3 separate regions of the Homo sapiens genome follow, and all the other regions are linked to region 1. The links are contacts of gene promoters, found by promoter capture Hi-C in human tissues and cell types (Jung and others, 2019). All regions are on one chromosome and are shown on one strand. The core of a region is centred on a gene start or on the middle of the fragment in contact, and the rest is flanking DNA. Distances in the headings are between cores, read along the strand shown. Region 1 holds the start of MSRB2 (methionine sulfoxide reductase B2). Region 2 overlaps DNAJC1 (DnaJ heat shock protein family (Hsp40) member C1). Region 3 overlaps KIAA1217.

The links. Contacts are between HindIII fragments. The study calls those that stand out against the background at their distance.
Region 2: a contact is called between a fragment that was not itself captured here and the fragment with the promoter of MSRB2 in region 1, in 1 of the 25 tissues and cell types used here (lymphoblastoid cells).
Region 3: a fragment that was not itself captured here is called in contact with the fragment with the promoter of MSRB2 in region 1 in 1 of the 25 tissues and cell types used here (mesenchymal stem cells).

What each region holds. Positions count from the first base shown.
Region 1 is chr10:23,094,098-23,097,057 of GRCh38, forward strand. It overlaps MSRB2 (methionine sulfoxide reductase B2), which reads left to right and starts at 1,482. Exons shown (of 5, transcript NM_012228.4): 1 at 1,482-1,629. The coding sequence starts at 1,512. It overlaps LOC107984215 (a long non-coding RNA gene), which reads right to left and starts at 1,182. Exons shown (of 3, transcript XR_001747394.2): 1 at 723-1,182. RefSeq lists a silencer at 1,290-1,759. The HindIII fragment of the contact is 14,874 bases long and covers 1-2,960 here.
Region 2 is chr10:21,790,334-21,793,293 of GRCh38, forward strand. All of the region lies in intron 9 of DNAJC1 (DnaJ heat shock protein family (Hsp40) member C1), which reads right to left. Among named protein-coding and RNA genes, the nearest start is that of DNAJC1, 210 kb to the right of the region's middle. The HindIII fragment of the contact is 6,292 bases long and covers 1-2,960 here.
Region 3 is chr10:24,254,723-24,257,682 of GRCh38, forward strand. All of the region lies in intron 2 of KIAA1217, which reads left to right. Among named protein-coding and RNA genes, the nearest start is that of MIR603, 19 kb to the right of the region's middle. The HindIII fragment of the contact is 4,955 bases long and covers 1-2,960 here.

The DNA of each region.
Region 1 (2,960 bases), core at 232-2,731:
TGTCTCAATCAATCAATCAATCAATCAATAAAAATGGTGCTGGAACAACTGGATATAGATATGCAAAAAACAAAACAGATAAACAAAACAAAACAAAAATTTTGGCCATATATAAAAATTCTAAATCGGTCAGAGACCTAAATGTAAAACCTAGAACTATAAAAATTTTAGAACAAAACATAGGAGAGAATCTTTGTGATCTTGGATTAGGCAAAGATTTCTTAAATATGATACCAAAAAAAGAACAATCCATTAACAAATTGATAAATTGGGCTTCATCAAAATTAAAAACTGCTCTTCCCAAGACAATATTAGGAGACAGAAAAGACAAACAAGAGACTGGGAAAAAAAATCTTTGTAAAGCATATGTTTGATAAAAGATTTGCATCCAAAATATATAAAGTGTTCTAAGCTCAATAATGAAACAACTCAACATTAAATGGGCAAAAGATCTGAACGGACACTTCACCAAGGAAAATACACTCGCTGCAAATACGCACATGAAAAGATGCTTAACATCATTAACGATTAGAGAATGCATAATAAAGCCACAATGAGCTACCACTACACAGAACCGGAACATCTACAGTTAAAATCTCTGGACTTTCAAGTGTTGGCAAGGATGAAGAACAACTGGAACTCGCATAGACTGCTAGTGGGAAGGTAAAGAAAAAAACCACTTGGGAAAACAGTATAGTAGTTTCTTAAATGGTTACACCTACCTTACGACCTGGGCATTCCACTTCCAGGTATTTACCCCAGAGAGGAAAAACCGTATATGTCTGTACAAAGATTTGCACAGGGATGTTCCTAGCAGCTGTAGTTCTAATCAGGAAAAATTGAAAGCAGGCTAAATCAAGTGCTGACTAAACACACGGTGGTATATCCATAAATGGAATACTGCTCAGGAAGCAATGAATGATTGTTCCATGCAAAAACACGCAGGCATGTCAAAGTAACTATGTTGAGTGAAAGAAGCCAGACAAAATCAAGTACATATGGGATGATTCCATTTATGGACGACTCTAGAAAATGCAAACTAAAACAGATCAGTGTTTGGGCTGCGGATGAGTGGAGTTGGGATAGGTGGAGGGGGGCAGGGCGAGGGAGGAGCAGGAGTGGGAGGAGCTGGGAGATGCAGAGATGGGTTGGGGAGGGTCTCATGGAAGGGAAGGGAGAGAGGAAGGGGGAGAGGAAGGGGGAGGAAAGGCAAGGGGAAAAGGAGAGGAAGAGGGAGGGGGAGAGAGAGGCAGAGTGGGAGGAAAGAGGGGCGGGGACCTGGGAGGGCCCAGGGCACATAGTGGGAGGAGCAGGTGGGAAGGAGGGAAGGAGGGAGGGGCAGGGGAGGGAGAAGAGGGGGAGGGAGACGAGGGGACTGGCGGTGTGGGCGGAGCGTGGGGAGGGAGGCCGACTAGCGCAGGCGGACGGGAGAGAATGGGGGAGGGGTGGGATGGGAGCAGGGGCAGAGACGGGCAGAGGGCAGAGGGCGGAGCGGCGCCGGAGCGGGCGTCATGGCGCGGCTCCTCTGGTTGCTCCGGGGCCTGACCCTCGGAACTGCGCCTCGGCGGGCGGTGCGGGGCCAAGCGGGCGGCGGCGGGCCCGGCACCGGGCCGGGACTGGGGGAGGCAGGTAGGACGCGGGTCCCGCAGGCCCCGCCGCCGCCTACGGCTTTCGGCTTCATTTCACCGGCTGCACCCGGGAGCCTAGGGCCGGTCCAGGCCGGGCGCTGCCCTCCTACTAAGCCCTCCTCGGCGCGCCCCTCCCCCCCCCCAGCCCGAGGATCTGGGACAGTGGATTGTAAACTTGGTGGCGGCAGGGTGGGGACTGACCCCTGTGAGAATCCGAGGAAATGAACAAATGATCCCCCTAAATGTGCGCATAATTTTTTTTTTCTTGGCTCGGGGAGTGGGGGCATAAGTGGGGCTCGGGGGCCTCTGACCCCTATCGGGGACTCCAGGCGAAGGCCCGGGGCCTGGGCTGTAGCAGCCCGGCCCGCGCGCCCCTGCGAAGGCCCCTAGTATTTTGCATTGCAGCCCTCTTCGTAGTTCCGCGGGCTTCCTTCCAGCATCTGAGAAGCAGGCAGTTCAGACTTGGGGTTCCTGTGAGTGTTTCCTGCCCTGCTGACTTCCCATAAATGTGTCTAAGAGCCAGGGAGACTGGGTTGATCATTTGTTCCTTCTTTAAGGTGACAGCCATTGTTAATGACTGAGACAGAGACCAGGGCGAGCCTGTGTGTGTGTGTCTCTCTCTCTCTCTGTGTGTGTGTGTGTGTGTGTTTCTGCTAAATACTTTTGGATCCTCTCTTGGATCTGGGTACCTGCACATTTCACCAAGCAGGAAGGAGTCACCTCGGGAGACCTGTGCCAGCTACCCCTGTATTTCAGTTCTATTTCAGGGTAACTTAGTGCCCCAGGGGATTGGCTTCCTGGGCGGTTGCCAGACTGACCCACTCTGAATCCAATTTTATATGTGTTCATTGAAGACATTCAGAGATACCCAACTGATGAAAATGTACCAACTCATTCTGAGCTCTTTTTAGCCCCTGAAGTTTTCGAAATGCAATATTGAAAGAATACGTAACTAAATAAAAGCGTTGGCGTTGTGGAATGTTAGCTCATCCAACTTGACTTCCAGCTATGGCCTTTCTAATCACTGGTGTCTCTAGTCAGTCTGATGACATTTGCTGTGAGCCTACTGTGTGCCAAGCATTGTATTGCTGAGAACCACAGGTGATAGAAACAGGTCACAGTTACCGACGAGCTCTCTATAACCCCTTGAAAAAGGATGGTGGTTTTAGCGGTAACTACTTCATGGCTGTAATTGCTGCTGTCAGAAGCAGCCTAATGAATTGCCCTGGGATCTGAAGTTCTCCAGCAACAATAAAATTTGGCCAGCCACCAGTAGGTAACAGGAGCTGTGTACCTTATCAGACACCCCTCCTGGGAATCTATTCGAAGGAA
Region 2 (2,960 bases), core at 247-2,746, 1.3 Mb before region 1:
CAAAAAGATCCTCCCAGAGGCACATTATGATCAAATTTTCAAAGGCAAAGACGAAGAGAAAATTCTAAAAATGGCAAGAGAAAAATGTCAAGTTACATTTAAGAGGATTCCCATTAGATTTCTCCAGAGAAACCTTGCAAGCTACAAAAGAATGAAACAATGTATTCAATAAATTGCCAAAAAAAAAAAAGCCACCAAAGAATACTGTACCCAGCAAAACTATCTTTCAGAAATGAGAAAGAAAATCTTTCCCAGACAAGCAAAAACTAAGAGAATTCATCACCACTACATTGGCCTTACAAGAAATGCTCAAGGAAGTCCTGCATCTGGCAGCAAAAAGATGATAATCACCATCATGAAAACACTCAAAAGTATAAAATTCACTGTTATAGCAAATACACAAAGCAGAAAAAGGATCAAATCTTAATATTACAGAAAACCACCAAACCACAATGACATGAGAGGAAGAAAGGAAAAAAAGATACCTAAAACAACAAGAAAACAATGAACAAAATGACAGGAGTAAGTCCTCATTTATCAATAATAACCTTGAATATGAACAGATTAAATTCTTCACTTAAAAGATATAGACTGGCAAAATAAAATTTTTAAAAATATGAGTCAACTATACTATATGCTACGTATAAGAAATTCACTTCACTTATAAAGACACATACAGACTGAAAGTAGAGGAAGAAAAAAGATACTCCATGCAAAAGGAAAACAAAAGTGAGAAGACATAGCTATATTTATATCATATAAAACAGACTTTAAGTGAAAAGCTGCAAAAAGAGACAAAAAAGGTCATTATATGATGATAAAAGGATCAATTCAGCAAGATGTGAATATATATGCACAGTTGTGAATATATATGCACCCAACATTGGAGAAACCAGATACATAAAAGCAAATATTATTAGATCTAAAGGGAGAGATAGACTCCAATACAACAACAGTTGGGAACTTTGACACCCCACACTCAGCAGTGGACAGATCATTCAGACAGGAAATCAACAACAAGAAAACACTGAATTTGAATTGCATCTTAGACCAAATGGAACTAACAGACATTTACAGAACACTTCATCCAACAGCTACAGAATACACATTCTTCTCATCAGCTCATGGAACATTCTCCAGGACAGACCACATGTTACGCCACAAAACAAGTCTCAACAAATTTTTAAAAAGTAGAAATCATATCAAGTATCCTCTCTGACCACAGTGAAACAAAACTAGAAATCAATACCAAGGGAACTTTCAAAACCATACAAATATATGAAAATTAAATGTGCTCCTGAACGACCAATTGGTCAATAAAAAAATTTAAAAGAAAATTAAAAACATTCTTGAAACAAACGAAATTAAAAACACAACAAATCAAAATCTACTGAATACAGAAAAAGCAATATTAGAGGCAAGATTATAGCCATAAACAAGGAGAAAGATTTCAAATAAATAACCTAATGATGCATTTCAAGGACTAGAAAAGCAAGAAACCAAACCCAAAGTTAGCAGAAAGAAAGGAATAATAGAGTTCAGAGTAGAAATAAAATTGAAACTGAAAAAACCATACCAAAGATCAATGAAACAAAAAGTTGATTTTTTGAAAAGATCAACAAAATTGATAAACCGTTAGCTTAGCGTAACCAAAAGAAATGAAAAACATGGATAGTTCACCCATCATTAAAGAAATGAAATCTGTGGTCAAAAAAAAATCTTCTTTGGAGAGAATATCAGCCACACTTTTATTATTCAAGCACTTTCAGAGCACAACCGCTGATGTGAATGAAATGAATAAATCCCTAGAAATTACTAAAATTTAATCAAGAAGAAATAGAAAATCTGAATAGACCCGTAATAACTTAAAAACAAATGAATTAGTAACTAAAAGTCTTCCCATAAAGAAAAGCCAAGGCCTAGCTGGCTTCACTGGTGAATTCTATCAGATACTCAAAGAAGATATAATAACAATTGTTCACAAACTTTCAGAAATTAGGGGAGGAAGGAACACTTTCTATTTATTCTATGAGGCTAGCATTACCCTGATATCAAAGCCAGACAAAGACATCACAAGGAAACTATAGACCATTCGCTCTCATGAACAAAGAAACAAAAATCCATAATTACTAGCTAACCTTGACCGGGTGTGGTGGCTTATGCCTGGAATCCCAGCACTTTGGGAGGCTGAGGTGGGCGGATCACTTGAGGTCAGGAGTTTCTGACCATCCTGGCCAACATGGTGAAACCCTGTCTCTACTGAAAATACAAAAAAGTTAGCCAGGCATAGTGGCAGGCGCCTGGAATCCCTGCTGCTCTGGAGGCTCAGGCAGGAGAATTGCTTGAACCCGGGAGGCAGAGGTTGCAGTGAGCTGAGATCGTGCCACTGCTCTCCAGCCTGGGTGACAGAGTGAGACAACACCTCAAAAAAAAAAAAAAAAAAATTAGCTAACCAAATCCAGCACCATATAAAATGTATATACAACATGATCAAGTGGGAATGTAAGGTTGGTTTAACATCCAAAGATCAATTTATATACTATGCCATATTAATAAAACACAGGATAAAAATCATGTGATCATCTCAATAGATGAAGCAAAATCATGTGACAAAATCCAATGTCTATTCATGATAAAAATGCTCAAGCTAGAAATAGAAGGGAAGTTCCTTAGATAAAAAGCTTCTATGAGCCTGGGCACGGTGGCTCATGCCTATAATCCCAGCATTTTGGGAGGCCAAGGAGGGCAGATCATCCGAGGTCAGGAGTTCAAGACCAGTCTGGCCAACGTGGTGAAACCCTGTATCTACTAAAAATAGAAAAATTAGCTGGGCGTGGTGGTGAATGCCTGTAATCCCAGCTACTTGGGAAGCTGAGGCAGGAGAATCACTTGAACCCGGGAAGTGGAGGTTGCAGTGAGCTGAGATTGTGCCATTGCTCTCCAGCCTGGGCAACTGGGCG
Region 3 (2,960 bases), core at 287-2,786, 1.2 Mb after region 1:
AATGACACAATAAATATATTTTGATATGAATTAGGTAAAGATCTGTCTCTAACCTTGGGCTATATGTGAACATTAACTGCCCATTGGATACTGGGGAACTATAAATGTCTCCGTCCAACTCTGTTCAACTCTAATTTTTTTTTTTTTTTGAGACGGAGTCTTACTCTGTCACCCAGGCTGGAGTGCAATGACGTAATCTTGGCTCACAGCAACCTCTGCCTCCTGGGTTCAAGTGATTCTCCTGCCTCAGCCTCCCAAGTAGCTGGGATTACAGGAGCCCGCCACCATGCCCAGCTAATTTTTGTATTTTTTAGTAGACACAGGGTTTCACCATGTTGGCCAGGCTGGTCTCGAACTCCTGACCTCAAGCCATCCACCTCCCTCGGCTTCCCAGAGTGCTGGGATTACAGGCATGAGCCATGACACCCGGCCTGTAATTTTCTTTAAAGACTGCCACTGGGTGGAACCCACTGGGCCCAGTGAGAACTACGGAAAAGAGACCCATTCTTGCCCTCATTGTTAGTGTCCACATCCGGATTTACCTAAACCCCACCCAGGTGGCATTTGCATAGTAATGAAAAACCGGTATTTTCTAGCTGTGAATCACACTTCAAATCCTGAGCGGCTGACTGTCAGGGGTGCGTCAGGCCTGCTTGCTGGGAGAATGGACGAGCTGGTTGTGGAGCGGGCGGGTCCCGCCACCCGTGGGCTCAGCACTGGACTGCTCCCAGAACATTAAAGGTCTGGCTGATGTTCCATGCCACATCTGGACATGAAGACCCATGTCTGCCCTTCTGTAGAAGGGCCAAAGAAGAAAGGAGGCATCACATGTTTCTGCTGTGGGGGGCCCTTCCGAGCAGCAGACAGGAGCAAGGTACAGGAGTGGCCTGATTCTGGGGTTTCCCTGCCCCCCCTGGGGTCCCTAAACTGCTGTGTGATATGTTTCTAACTATCTGGACAGCTCACCCAAGAGTCAGTTGTTCCCAGTCGCTTCTTGCTGAGGATAAGCCAAAAGAGGGCCGGGGGCCAATCTGGTTTCTTTCAAGTGAAATTATGCTTCTCAAGCAGAGAATGATTGCCCACAGCAGTTAAACCTTGTTTAATGGTAATTAAATTGCTTTTCTTCACTTTGAAAAATCTCTTAATTTTCTGTACAAAGGCAGGAAGCATTTTTCTTTGATTCTACAGGATGTTTCTAAGTATGGTGTAATCAGTTCATCTTACCTTGCCGGGCTCTGAAAGAATGAGTGTGTGGGATCAGATTTAGAAATGCCTCAAAGGTTAGAAAGCCGAGTGCTGCCGATTAACTCAAGCTCAGATGACCAAAAAAAAAAAAAAAAAAAAAAAGCTGCTTTTCCCCTCACTTCTCCCTCTGGTTCTGCCTCAGTACTTTGCTTAGGAGTTTCTAAAAGCAGGCACAGTTGCCTGCGGGGCTGGTGTGTGTCACCTTCGCAAAGTGCAGATGAGGTCTGGCATGTCCCATCTTGTTCCTGCCTGACTACAACTCTGCACACAGACAGTGTTGATCTGGCTTGGAGCCCATAGTGGCAATCCTTGGAGTGGAGGCAGCAGAGATCTCAGTTCTTCCTAGTGCTTGAGAAGTTAACTAACTGTCTTTCCCATGAGGAAAATGTTTTGAGACTGTAGAAGCAGAGAAGAGACTTCGCCAAAGCCCATAGAAAATAAAAAGCAAACCCTCAAGCATGAAAATCCCTGGCCCTGGAGTAAGTGCAGGTGATAAGGCTTGCTATCTGATGCCTCATTCCATGTCTCTGGCTTCCCATTGCCTAAATTAAGATGTCCTGAAAGAAACCTTGGGAAAAAAAAAGCACAGTCCCCACATTTGAAGTAGAAATAGAATTAAGGAGAAATTGTGATTTTCCTGAAGGAACAGAACCAACACTGGTTTTCAAAAGCCTTAGTTTTACATTTTAGTAGAAACTGTTAGCAGTAGGAGGATTTGCTTTGTGTGTGTGTGTGTCTGTCTGCTTTGCCTTATTTTGGTTCTGACCATACCACTGCTATCTCAGTCTTAGAGGCTGATTTTGTGGCCCAGAGTGTTTCGTTCAGATATCTTTGTGTTGAGGTGATATTGAGCCAGCAGCCAAAGAAATGCATGGCCAAGATATGGAATATCTGGTCAACAGAGAATAACAACAAAGTGGGACGCATCATAAGGTCATAGGTCAGTGAAAACAGCTGCTAGCCATTTATATGCAGGAGAGAAAGAAGGCCCAGGGAGTTGGAAAGACTGAAGGTATTTTGGACTGAGCAGAGCAAAGGGATTTGGGGACATATAAATGTATGAAACAAGATGGTCAGGAAAACAATTTTTTTCAAAGGTAGCATGAATAGAGTGAGGTAAGGAAACCCATGGCCATGGTACTGGTGGCCTAATGGGAAAAGGCAGTGTAATGACTTCTACATGGAGACTTCAGTTCTGCCCCTCGTACTGTTGAAGAATATTCTGTCCAGAGAGGCTCTTCAGTTTCTACCTGGTTTTCTAATGGCTTTAAAAAACTTTGGTGTATTGGGGGAATGGAAACAAAGATATTTACTAGAGAAGTGTTTGGCAAAAAGTGCCAAGCTTATTCCTGAGAAAGGATGGAACGGCGTGGGGGGTGGAGGGAGGGTTGGAACCATACTCCAAATTCCCCTGAGGCCCACACGTGTTCACCAGACATCTGTGGGGAGCCCGGATGAGATGTGGGGCCCTTCCCCTTTCTCATTTTCTTTTTTACTTTTAGATCCTGGATCAAAATGAGTCCTTGATTCCCTCATCCCATCCCAGGACCCTTTTTTAGTTGCATTACCACCTAGTGAAGTCTACCAAGTCTTGATTTGAGAATCAAAACAAACTCAGATCAAAGTCAACCTCAGGGAATCAGAGAACACAGAAGCTGAAAGATGTATCCAGCCTTCCCTAAATGGCAGATGAGGACACTGAGGCCAGGAAGCTC